3 separate regions of the Homo sapiens genome follow, and all the other regions are linked to region 2. The links are contacts of gene promoters, found by promoter capture Hi-C in blood cells and fetal thymus (Javierre and others, 2016). All regions are on one chromosome and are shown on one strand. The core of a region is centred on a gene start or on the middle of the fragment in contact, and the rest is flanking DNA. Distances in the headings are between cores, read along the strand shown. Region 1 overlaps WDR25 (WD repeat domain 25). Region 2 holds the start of DLK1 (delta like non-canonical Notch ligand 1). Region 3 has its middle 97 kb from the start of LINC02285.

Region 1 (4,196 bases), core at 1,447-3,946, 340 kb before region 2:
TGATAGTAATGTAGTCCCCCAGTATGGAGGTACAGTGTGATAGGTCGTTGTGCCCACCTGGGACCTGTCTCCAGCCCTTCGAGCTGTGCACTGCATCCCTCCTCTCTCTCCTCGCAGCTAGCAAAGCACCTGATATGTAGCGGGTGCCAACTAAATGCTAGCTGAACAGAAAGCTCTTGGAAAGGAAATAACTTCAAGGGACCTGGCTTCACATCCAGCTTTGCTGCAGAGTAGCTAGCTGGTCGACCACTGGCCGGCTGCCTTCCTGTGGAGTCTAGTGTCTCATTTGTAAAAGGGCAAAATCATACCTGGGTCATGTGCTCATGTGAGAAAAATGCTGAAAAAGTGCCTTGCACAGAGCCAGGTACCTCATAGGCGCTCAGTAAATGGTGGTTCCCTTGCCCTTGTTTCCTCAGAGTTCTGGAACCAACTTTCCTACATCTTTTCTCTTGCAAATTACATTTTGAGCTTTTCTCCCTCGGAAACATTTTCTTAAGTGAAGAAAGGAAGCTCCAAGTATAGAGATGTCTTTGAAATGAGCTGAATTGATGGGTGGCATTTTTAAGTGGCGAACTGGAGTCCTGAAGTGGCTTGTCTGTGCTCTTTTCTAGCAAGACTCAGAGTCCTGTGGGAGAGAACGTCATATTCTCTCTTCAGCCTGGAGTTCCAGGATTTTCCACTTAGGTCTTTGGTGCTTTTCCTGCCATTCCGGGGGCTGTGAAGTGTGCGCGGAGGCTTCTGGCATCCCTGGCGTGGATCACAGCATGCTGGGATTGATCCTGTGGCCCCGGGGCTTCTCTGCTCTCCTTCCCAAGTCTGCGCTGCAAGGGCTGGAGGATGGGAAGCCCATCTGGAGGGTTGCTGGTGGGCCTGGGCAGTGTCTGACTGGCCCTGGAGTTCAAGTGGTGGCCCTTGTCCTCCCTGTGCTCACCTTCCTGTTGAGGCCTTCTTTTACCTGCCCGCTCACCTCTGGAGTTCTCTCTCCTGATGGTGAGGGGCAGACCTGGGGCCCTGTGGGACTGGCCTTCGCCTGGTGGCGTGAAGTGCTCCCTGGGCCCTGCTGGCAGAGTGGCAGCTTGGGTCACTTTTGCCTGGGAAATTTAGATTTCCTAAACAGAAGCATCCCCATGGTAGTTTTTGAGCAGAGAGCACCTGAGTAGAGGCATTGATTTCTGGCCTTGTGGAGTAGACAAATGTGCCAGGCACGGTGCCACTGGGGACGTGGGGGGAGAGACGTTTCTGCCCCCATGGAGGGGAAACTGTGAGCAGCCAACTAACTGTGACACCTCATGACCAGAAGAGGGCGCAGTGGGCCCAGCTTGGAATGGCAGTGAGGGTGGCTCAGACTGAGGGACTGTGGTAGGAATGCCCTGCTCCTGGGCGATTCAGAGACCTGGGTCCGGGTCTGTGGGGCTGCCCTGGGTGGGGCCAGGCGCCGCAGCTGTGCCCGCCTGTCCCGAGGAGACTGTGTGTGCTGCAGGTGATGACACTGGCATGGGCCCCTTGGGCTGCCAGGCAGCTTCTGGGGAGCCCCACCCACTGCACTGTGCACCCTGGGTTCCTTCCCAGGGCAGAGCACATTTGCTGTCATGAGGTTGGGCCAGGGTCAGCATGGCTGCTAGGGTTGGCATCTCCTGACCCTCTTTTTTTACTGTGGTGTCGTGAACATTAGGGCTTTTATAAGCCATAGATACAAATGGTGGGCCAGGGCCCTCTCTGTTTTAAGATATTTGTCAGTTTTCAGTGATGGGGTTATTTGGCAAATTGGTTTTGGGCAAATTGACTTTGAACAACTTTTCAGTGTGAAGAGTGTATGGCAGGGGCTGGAGGAGCCAGGATGGGAAGACAGATTGGGAACCGGCGGGGAGCCAGGCAGGAGCTGTGGCCAGAAGTCCCGGCTGAGGCCTCAGGCTTGCTGGGCCACCAGGTTTGTGCGTGGCCTGGCTGGGAGGCACATGGTGTTCTTTTCCCTCCTTGGTGTCAGAGGTGGGGCAGCATGGCAGATCTTGGGGACCTGGTGATCTGGGGAAGGCAGTGTGTGGGTGTGGGTGGTGGGTCTGGAGTGGGGATAGGGCCTCGGGCACAGGCAGGAGTCCTGGCTGGCTGCAGCCCAGTCCCTGGAGGAGAGGAAATGGTGGGTGCAGCATGGAATGAGCTCAAAGAGGCGGGTGCAGCAGTACACCCTTCCCAGGGTGCTTTCCCCCTGCCTTTTGGTTAAAATCTGCCAGTGTCTTCTGGGCCCCTGCTGGATCAGGAAGGAGGGAAGAGCTTGGGGGCTGGGTGACAAGACCTGCTTGGGTCCTTCCTCTACGGCCAGCCCCTTGGTTGCGTGGTCTCTGGCAAGTTACCTCACTTCTGAGCCTTCATTTGAGTATCTATAAAGTGGAGAGAATTAAACATGCCTCGCTGGGTTTTTGTGAAAAGTAAACGATATTAGTTGTGAATCACCAAGTGCAATGCCTGGCACATAGCAGGCACTTAGTGTGTGCTCGAGTTCCTGCTTTTCCCCAAGAATTTCCTCCTTTCCTTGACTTGTGCTCATGTCTTATTTTACGTAAGTAGCCATGGAAGCATATCAGCTTCACCTACTAGACTTTAAGCTTCCTGAGCCAGAACCCATTTTTATATTCCCCAGCATCTGGCACAAAATTGTGTACATGTTAAGTGATCGATAAAAATTAAAACAAATTTTTTGGATTTTATCGCAAGCCTTTGGGAAGGGATTGTCTTTTGAGTGGATAAATCATATTCGCCACTAGGGTGCACAGTAAGACTTAATATAAGCAGCTCATCCAAGCTTCTAGAATGTGGAAGAATCCTTGATTCAAGGTAACATTTACTGAAAAATGATTTCTTTCTGATCAGGAGAAAAACAACACAGTCCAACTTATTAATCTAAAGAACATGGAGTGCCAGTTCCTTCATATCCTTAAAACGTAGCTTCGGAATTCATACATTTCAACTGGACACATTACAGTGGAAAGATACTTATTTTAATATGTTCTAAATGTTCTGTGAGCTGTAAAATATGCTTTTATTAGTTTTGAAAAATTTACAGCTAGAGAAATTAAGTAAAATAAAACAATGACTCATAATTCTGCACCGCTGCTCTTTCCTGACGATCCCTTCCTCCCCTTGTCTGTGAACGTGCTTGTTTTTTTCATAGCTGTGATCCCAGCACGGATACCCTTTTATATACTCTTTTCATCTCCCAGTGAACTCTTTTGGCTTAACGTGTTTGAACACCCACTGCACGTAAAGGTAGAAATTCAGACTTTGATGCCTTTTTTTGAAGGAAAACATGTACGTGGCCTGCGTTAACCAAAAACACAACCAGCCGTTATTGAATGCTCCCATGTACAGAACCCTCTGCCAGGCACTGAGAGGGAGTCCCAAAGGAATAAGACCTTTGGGTGGGTGACAGAAGACCCACCAGGGACCTTCTGTACCTGTATGAAAACCTGCAGTTCTGAAACACAGAAGGTTTTTAAAGAAAATATATGAATTAGATGTTGTTTATTTGCTTTACAGAATAATTTGCTCTAGAAATTCTTTCAGTAACAAGCTTCCTTAAAATACTTTGAAAAAAAACCTTTTAATTTTTGACCATGAATGTAATAGATGCTTATTGTGAAAAACTTTAATGATGCAGGAAATATGAAGTATGAAGGAGAAACAGAAATCATTGATAACTCCCAACCCCAAGTCAGTGCCTCATTAACATGAGGGGCCTCCCTGGTCGGGGGCCCTACATTCCTATCTGTTTACATAATTGGGCTTATTGCATAGTATGTGCAGTTTTGAATTCTTCCTCTGCTGCCCAATCTTCTGTAACGTGTAAGGGGAATTTTTCTACCTTATTAAAAACTTTTCCCCAAATATATTTTTATAACTGTCTCAAGTTTCATACTTTGCTCCATCATTTCCATGTTGTTTCCTATAATTTCCTGCTTTTGTTTAAAAAATAATCAGTATTACAGTGAATATGGCTATACATAAATATTGTCTTTTTTTGCTGCCTTAATGCAGTTAAGATGGGCTTTGAGGCCAGGCGCGGTGGCTCATGCCTGTAATCCCAGCACTTTGGGAGGCCGAGGCAGGCGGATCACGAGGTCAGGAGATTGAGACCATCTTGGCTAACATGGTGAAACCCCGTCTCTACTAAAAATACAAAAAATTAGCCGGGCGCGGTGGTG
Region 2 (3,902 bases), core at 1,185-3,684:
GCCAAGGCAGTGCCCTTTCAGCGTAAGCCTGTGACATTTTGACAGACTCCCTTGGGCGAGAATACCCTCCTCTGGCCTCCCTCCCTTTCCTAAACTGGGGAGGGCTGTGGTGGGGCTGGGGGCGGGGGTGGGAAGGGGGAAGAACCTGGATGGGGAAGGGAGGAGTCTAGGTATGTGTGTGGGTGGGGACACTGGGGCCCCCTAAGTGCTCCATGCAGTCCAGGGAGTCTCCTCTCTGCGGGACTTTGGCAAGAGCCTGGGAGGCCCTTGCCCCAGGGCTACCCAGCCCTGAGATCCTCCACCCCTCCTTGGCTTCTGGCTGAGAACTCAGCTCTTCCAGGTCTGCCTGCTGTTGGGATAATTTTGGAGGCTGAAGTCAGGGGCCTCGAAGGGAGGGAAGAGAGGAACCCTGGTCAGGAAGACCTTGGCGATCACCATGCAGTGGACATTGGCACCCAGGGTTGGGCCTGTCAGCCAGACACTCTCGTTCTAGGCCAAGGGCCTTGGGCAAAGGACCTTCCATCACTGAAGTTGGTTTCTTGACTTGAGGAAAGAGTCCACGGAAGAAAGTAGGGTCACAGGAATGCAAGGGCATGTGGCAGGCACACAGTGGGCACCCCAACTGCTCCCTACAGCCTGTCCCCAAAGCCGTTCCCAGCAGCCCCTACCTATCTGGGCATTCTGCAGATAACATCAGGGAAGGGATATCTTCCACCAGGGGCTGGGAGTTTCCCTCCAGCCTCCTTGGAGCCAGCCCAGAGCAGCTCTGGTCTCTGTCCATCCCTGTACCCATCCCGAGTGCCTTACTGGAGCACTGACTTAGGGGTGGTGGGCCTGGGGATGCCCATGGGCCTGCCTTCCCACATCTATGGCTAAGATGGGAAATCTGTGCTCAGACCTGCCAGGGCTGGACTAGAGGGCCAGGAGGTCAAAGCATCCAGCCTCCAGGTTCACAGTGGTGAGATCACACCCCCCTGCAGCACTGTGAAGAAGGGGAGGCCGCGAGCTGGGTGGGCACCCACTCCCTGCATCTAGGATATGTATGCAAATTAATATATGCAAATTAAGTATCCTAAACGACCCACCCAAAGATTGGGACGCCTGGGACCCTTCCCCCAGGAGGTGAAATATCTTTAATCCCCTCCTACCCCTCTCCCTCCCTATCTTTCTGAGCCTCCCCCATCCAGACTGGGTGCAGGGGTGCAGAGCTTTCCTCTCCAGCAGGGCTCTAAGCCTAAGCCGGGGGCAATGGGGAGGAGGGGTGTCTGAGGAGCACTCCCTCTCCCTGGGAGCTCTGCAGAGGAAGAGGGTCTCTGGCAATCAGCATCCTCTACCTCCACCTCTCCAGCGGGCGACCCCTCAGAGAAGGTCTCCCAGTGAGTCTGGAATACGTGCCGAGTGCCTGGAGTGCTATTGTGTGTATGTGAGAGCACATTGGTGAGGCTGCCCATGCATGCCACTGTGGACAAAGACAGATGCGATCGTGTGTGTGTGGGGACTGCGTATATGTTTTTGTCAGTGTGTGTGACCACGAGTCAGCTGGGTATGTGTGCTTGTGGGTATCAGGTGCATGGCTGTGCGTACATGTGTGCGTAAGAGTCGGTGCATTTGTGTTTCAGCGCGGCTAAGGCCCTGACTGAGATGCTGTGTGTGCGGGGGTGGGTGTGACTGAATGCGGGCACGGGTGTCCGTCTGTTTATACGTGTGTTTGCGTGTTTGGGTGTGCAGGTGGCTCTGCGTAAGCGTCTGTGTGCAGGGGGTCGGCACATGGGGGAGGATGCCCATGGTTGGGTAACCGCAGGTCCGCTTGACCCTCTGCCACCTAGGACTGTGTCTATACGGCGTCTGGGCTACAGTGTGTTTGAGTTGCCGTGTGCGTTTCCGTTGCGGGGTGTGGGTTGCCACGGGGCAACTGCATTTTTCTGCGTCTTCATGGCCAGGGGTACAGGGGGCGTCGGGCTTTTCCTGGGGGTTTTTCTGTGTGCGTGTGTAATTATGTGCTTAGTTCACATCTTCATAGTGCGCCTTTGTGTTTTCCTGGGTATCTAACCATTGCACGTGTGCCCGGGACTTCAGCGATAAGTGTTTCGGTGTTCCTGCGTGCGGATTTGTGCTCTCCGGGGAGGTCTGCGGCCCAGGTTCGATTCCTGCGACTTGTCCTAGGCAGGCCTGTATGTGCGCGGCGGCCGCGTGCTGTACAGTGTGAGGGAACGTGTACCAAACGCTCGCGGGATACCTGTGCCCGTCTAGCCAAGAGTGCACCCGTGTGCGCGAGCGGGCTTCTGGGACGCCGCCGTGGTCGGGGGCGGCCCTGCGAGGGGAGGGGGTCACAGGGACTGGCCGGCGCCGGCCCCGTGCGCACGGAGGCGGGGGCGGGGGGCGGGGGCCGCGAGGGGGGAGGCGGTACGAAAAGGGCGGCGCGCGCGGCGGCGGCGGCAGCTCCCCGGCAGCGGCGGTGGAGAGCGCAGCGCGCAGCCCGGTGCAGCCCTGGCTTTCCCCTCGCTGCGCGCCCGCGCCCCCTTTCGCGTCCGCAACCAGAAGCCCAGTGCGGCGCCAGGAGCCGGACCCGCGCCCGCACCGCTCCCGGGACCGCGACCCCGGCCGCCCAGAGATGACCGCGACCGAAGCCCTCCTGCGCGTCCTCTTGCTCCTGCTGGCTTTCGGCCACAGCACCTATGGTGAGTTCCCCGGCGGCCCGGCTCGCGCCCCCTCTGGGGAAGCCTGCGACTCCCCGCCGGCCGCCCGGTGCCCCGCACGCCCCGTCTCGTGAGCCCCAACTCCGCCCGTCCCGCCTAGCCCTAAGCCCCGCGCTGTGCCTGTCTCGCCCTACCCACCACGCTCGCATGCCAAGGCCCGTCCCAGGGGTCCCAGGGCGCAGGGGATGTGTGAGACCCCCAGCCCCTTCCCGCCCTGCAGAAGTGGCGCCAGAGGGGTGTCGGTGCGCTGAGCAAGGAGGTATGGAAAAATGGGGTGCTGTTGTGGAGTCTTCTATGAAAATACTCTGGGGTGCAACTTTGGGGTGTCCCTGTGTGAGCGTTCTGGAACAGGTCTCGGGGCGGGAGTGGGGGACGACTTTGCCGTCTTAGCCCCCAATTCCCAGAGAAGCCCAGCCTGAGCCCTTCCTGCGTGGCGCGTTTCTGTAGGTGAGGGGCTGCGACACTTCTGTCTGCAGCGGCCATCTGTCTCTGACAGCGAGAGAGTTGCCCCCTTCCTGCAGCGCCCCCCCACTCATTGCACCAGTGGTTGTAAGGGGGCTGTCTAGAAAGCTGGGGAGCTGGTTGAGTAAATGCACACAGTAGGTGCCTGTTAAAGTGTCAGAATCTCTAAGCAGTGTTGTTGCAACCTCAGCCCGCTAAGCAAAACCCTGTGTCGTCATCGTTTTTTTAATGCGAAGAGTCTGGGGTAGGGGAAAGAGGGAAGATTTGACCTGGGTGCCCGGCTTAATAGGGATGAACCTTAAAAAGAATGCAGACGCCTTACTGGGGCGCCCACCAGGTGAACCTGTCTGGGCTTTCCCGGAGTTGAACACCTCAAAATCTGCTCCTCTTTTCAGCTCAGGTTGCAAAAGTGACGGTCAGGCTGCATGCCCAGGGCTCAACATATTTCCCTCCACGGTCCCCGTCCCCGCTGTTAGGAGGACTTGAGGTGTCGTATTTGCTTTTGGGAGTCCGAGGAGAAGGTGTTTCTCCTGCTCCTAAGAACGAGGGAGAGTGTACTGTGGTCATTTCATTGCTGGGAACGTGGCAGAGATGTTTTTCCTGAGTGCACTGAGCCCCATCCATGCTCGGATAGGAAGTGCCTACTGTGTGCCAGGCTGGTAGGACCCAAGAGGGCTGTTGGTGCCCTCGAGGGCAGTGGTGGGCTGTGTGGGCGAAGACAGCCTTTGCCTTGGCCTGGGGCCT
Region 3 (4,172 bases), core at 526-3,025, 490 kb after region 2:
GGATGATTCTGGGCTATGCAGCCTCTACCCCCAGGCATCTATGTGGGGGACAAGCATATGGGAGAGAGGCGGAATGGCAGAGGACCCGCTCTCTGCAGACTGTGGTTAACCCCTCAGTAGGCACGATGCTGCACACGGAGCACAACATGATTTTGCAGCTGAGGAAATGGAAGCTTAGTTAAGTCAATGTAAGGATAAGATGATGGACCTTTTTTGTTAATAAACAGGAAGGAGGCCGCTTCCTCTCCACCCTCTCCTCCTTAGGGTATCTCCTTGGAAAAAAATAATCAGTCCGATAAGAGGCCCAATCTTTTAGTTTTACTATGTAAGATATGAGGCCTCCTGACCCTTGGAACTGTAAACACAACCCCCTAAGAGGACCTCGGAAATCTTTCACAGATAGACAAGTGGGTCCTCTTATCTGTCTAGGAGATAGGAGAATGCTTCGTTCTTCTCTTTTCTGCATTTCTGTGCACGTCTGTTGAAATTCTGAAGTCCAGTCTCTGGAGACACTTTTGTGCTATCTTACATGCATGTGAATATCACAGTGCTTACTTAAGATTAAACTGCATTCTCTCTCTTCTATTTTGGTACAGAAGGGTCTTTTGACAGGAGGATTGTCTTATTTCCCCAACGGTCATTTGCCTGGGGCCACGCAACAGCACTGTGGACTCTGACCATGAACTCTTGCAACACCCCCATCTCACCACTGCAGTCAAGCCAGAGGGTCGTGGGAATCTCAAGGGAGAAGATTCCCTGGCATTGGAGGTCATAACCCCTTCTTTTCACAGAGAGTTTACAAAATGCTTTTACGTGTTACCTTGTTCTCAGAAGGACACAGAATGTCCTGAGGGTCCTGGAAACTCACCAATAAATACCTCCCAAACAAGCTGAGGATGGTGAGGACACCACTGTACACACCACCTTGTCTCTGTCACCGCATGGCTATGGTGAAGATTTCCTTCCATGCTCCCTAGCCACCGCCCTGTTTCTGGGAGACTAGTGGCTCTCACCCAGCACAATGCTCGTGAGCTCTCTTCCAGCTGTGGAGTGTCTCAATAGTTGCTTCCTTTCTACTGCGGAGCAGTGGCCTGTGTTTACCTTGCTATGTTCATAGGCAGTGCTTGCCATTGATCAGCTCTCACCAGGCCAAGGTCCACAGATTCGGCATCTCCTAGGTTGCTGCTGTTTTTTCTTCCTTGCTGAAAGATGGCATTGAGTCAGGCTTTACACATCGCAGGAACACAATTATTGTGCAGCTCATCCAGCTTCTTCCCTCTGGTTTCATGATGTGCAGATGGATACCATGGAGAAAAGCTAATGGAATGTGGGTCTGCTATTTTAGGTTGCTCAAATAAACAAGCGGGACACATCTTAAAACCATCAACCACGTTATTTTTAAAAGGACACACACACACACACGCACTACTGTACACACACACTACTGTAGCCTCTGGGTTTAGGGGGTTTGCTGTATCAATCTTGAAGAAATGTTTCTTTGTACTGATGGGTACTTCCCAAGTGCAATTATGGTTCCGCCTCTACTTTGCAAATCTCTCTGCACATCCAGTTCACAGAGATGGAATTAATGAGGGTGTGAAAGGGAGGAACGTCAAATACCAAGTGTGGACAGGCACCACCCAGATAGTTATCAGGGATATGAACTGTAGGCCTAAATGCACAGTCTTGATAAAGTCCACGCTGAATGAAACTGTTCCAACCTACACAAATGCAGAGCGATAAGATGACTGCACACAGGTGCCAGATGACTTCTGCTTCATGAGGGAGGTAGATGCCACAGGAAGATCCTCCAGGTAGAAGGGTCTTCTAGAAGCAGGTATGCCATTAGCTGTCTGTGCTGCTGTGGCAAGAGGTGGAGCGTCCATGCTGGGTAAAGTGCTTTGCGGATGACAGCTGTTTCAAGCAGTACATGGGAACTAGTTTTCATGAACCCCGTTGAGGTCGTCTCTTCACCATCAGATCATCATCTGCATACTGGCTTGTGGACATGCTCAGAAACGGTTCTGAACATACTCCAGACAAAGAAACGCAATGACCTGCATCATTAAACACTTCCATTCTTGGCATTCACCTTCCCGGTTGGTCTGGCCGTGCGTTTCATCCAGGACCTTCAATGCAGGGCCCTCAGCTGCTGAAGGCTGTCAGCACCCCGATCCATGTCCCTGGGTCCCTAAGGTGACTTCAGCACCAAGTGGCTCATAATTATATTTTAAAAAGCTATTTTGAATAATGGGAAAATATATATCCACATAATCACCATTCCCAGTGCTCTTATTTCTGCTGCATATATCCCTGCATCTATTTGTAATTCATTTCCTTCTGCTGGAAGGACTTCCTTTAATAGTTCTTGTAGTGCAGGCCTGCTGATCACAAATTCACAAATTCTTTTCAGCTTCTGCATGCTAAATAAGTCTATTTTACCTTTTTTTTTTTTTTTTTTTTTTTTTTTGACAGAGTCTCGCTGTGTCACCCAGGATGGAGTGTAGTGGCACGATCTCAGCTCAGTGCAACCTCCACCTCCCAGGTTCAAGCAATTCTCCTGCTTCAGCCTCCCGAGTAGCCTGGATTAAAGCCACCTGCCACCACACCCGGCTAATTTTTTGCATTTTTAGTAGAGACGGGGTTTCATCATGTTGGCCAGGCTGGTCTCAAACTCCAGACCTCAAGTGATCCACTCACCTCGGCCTCCCAAACTGCTGGGATTACAGGTGTGAGCCACTGTGCCCAGCCTTGCCTTCATTTTGGAAATATATCTTTGCTAGGTATAGAATGGAAAGCTGATCATTTGTTTTTTTCAATAAAGACTTTACCCATTGTCTTCCCACATGCATTGCTATTGACGAGACGTCTGCTCTCCTCGTTCCGTTTGTCCCTCTGTATGTAATGTGTGCTTTTTATTTTCTACAATTTTCCCTGATGTGCTTGGGTGTGCTTTTCCTCGCGTTTCATGGACTTGGGATTCATTAAACTTCTTGGATCTTGGTATGTATAGTTTTCATCAAATTTGTAAAATTTTCTGCTTTATTTTTTTCCAATGTATATTTTTTCTTTCTCCTCCTCCTCTGTTCCAGAAGCTCTAGTTTACATATTCCTTGGGTCTTTGGAAGTTATCCATAGCTTCCTTCTTCTCTGTTTATTTTTTTTTCAATTTTTGTTTTTTCCATATGTTTTATTTTGGATAGTTTATATTATTATGTCTTCAAGTTAACTAATCTTTTTTTCTTCTGTGGTATTTAATCTTCTGTTAATCCCATCCAGTATATTTTTCATCTAAGATAATTGTATTTTCAGCTCTTGAAGTTTGACTTACATCTCTTTTCATTACATGTCTCTACTTAACATGCTCAATCTTTCCTGAAGCTTCTTGAACGTGGAGAATTAGAATTATAATAATTGTTTTCTCATCCGGTTGACTAATTCCATCATCTCTAGTATTTCTGAATCAGTTTTGCTTGATTGGGTTTTCTCCTGATTATAGGGCATATTTTCCTGTTTCTTTGCATGCCTGGGTAATCTTTTCTTAAATCCCAGACATCATAAATGTTACCTTGTTAGGTGCTTGACGTTTATATTCCTATAAATACTGTTTTCAGACACAGTTAAGTTACTTAGAAACAGTTTGATCCTCTTGAGGCTTGGTTTTAAGTTCTGTTAGGTGGGACCAGAGCATCATTTAGTCTAGGGTGAATTTCACCCCACTACTGGGCTGACACCCTACTGAGTACTCTCCTGGGTGCCCAGAAGCTGTGAGATTGTCCAGTCTGGCTGGTGGGAACAGGCACTACTCCCAGCCCTTCGTGAGCATGGGCACTGTTGCTGCGAATGCTTCTGGGTGGGTCTTTCCTCCCATGCAGTTTGCCCACCCATGTGCTGATCAGCCCTCTACTGAATGCTAGGGGTCGGGGGAGATCCCTCTGCACATCTCAGAAACTCCCTTTCTGTGCCTCTCGTTCTTCTGTCCTGTGGACTCCAGCTGCCTCGGCCTCATCAGACTCCCAGTTCCATCTCAATTCAGAAAGACCCTGGCTCTGTCTCAGTCCTCCTCCCTGCACCATGGCCTGGAAACTGTCTCCAGACAGCAAGCTGGCGCAATCGCAGGGCTCACATTGTTTGTCTCAGGGATTACCGTCTTGAACTGTCTGATGTCTCAT

What was found. The method cuts DNA at HindIII sites, captures the fragments that hold promoters and counts their contacts. A CHiCAGO score of 5 or more calls a contact.
Region 1: a contact is called between a fragment that was not itself captured here and the fragment with the promoter of DLK1 in region 2, in 1 of 17 cell types (megakaryocytes). The highest score is 6.8, in megakaryocytes.
Region 3: a contact is called between a fragment that was not itself captured here and the fragment with the promoter of DLK1 in region 2, in 1 of 17 cell types (M0 macrophages). The highest score is 5.4, in M0 macrophages.

What each region holds. Positions count from the first base shown.
Region 1 is chr14:100,382,567-100,386,762 of GRCh38, forward strand. All of the region lies in intron 2 of WDR25 (WD repeat domain 25), which reads left to right. Among named protein-coding and RNA genes, the nearest start is that of WDR25, 8.2 kb to the left of the region's middle. RefSeq lists enhancers at 1-198, 425-934. The HindIII fragment of the contact is 197 bases long and covers 2,599-2,795 here.
Region 2 is chr14:100,724,458-100,728,359 of GRCh38, forward strand. DLK1 (delta like non-canonical Notch ligand 1) reads left to right here and starts at 2,435. Exons shown (of 5, transcript NM_003836.7): 1 at 2,435-2,678. The coding sequence starts at 2,612. The HindIII fragment of the contact is 10,517 bases long and covers 1-3,902 here.
Region 3 is chr14:101,216,210-101,220,381 of GRCh38, forward strand. It overlaps the pseudogene LOC100128373. Among named protein-coding and RNA genes, the nearest start is that of LINC02285, 97 kb to the left of the region's middle. The HindIII fragment of the contact is 3,208 bases long and covers 172-3,379 here.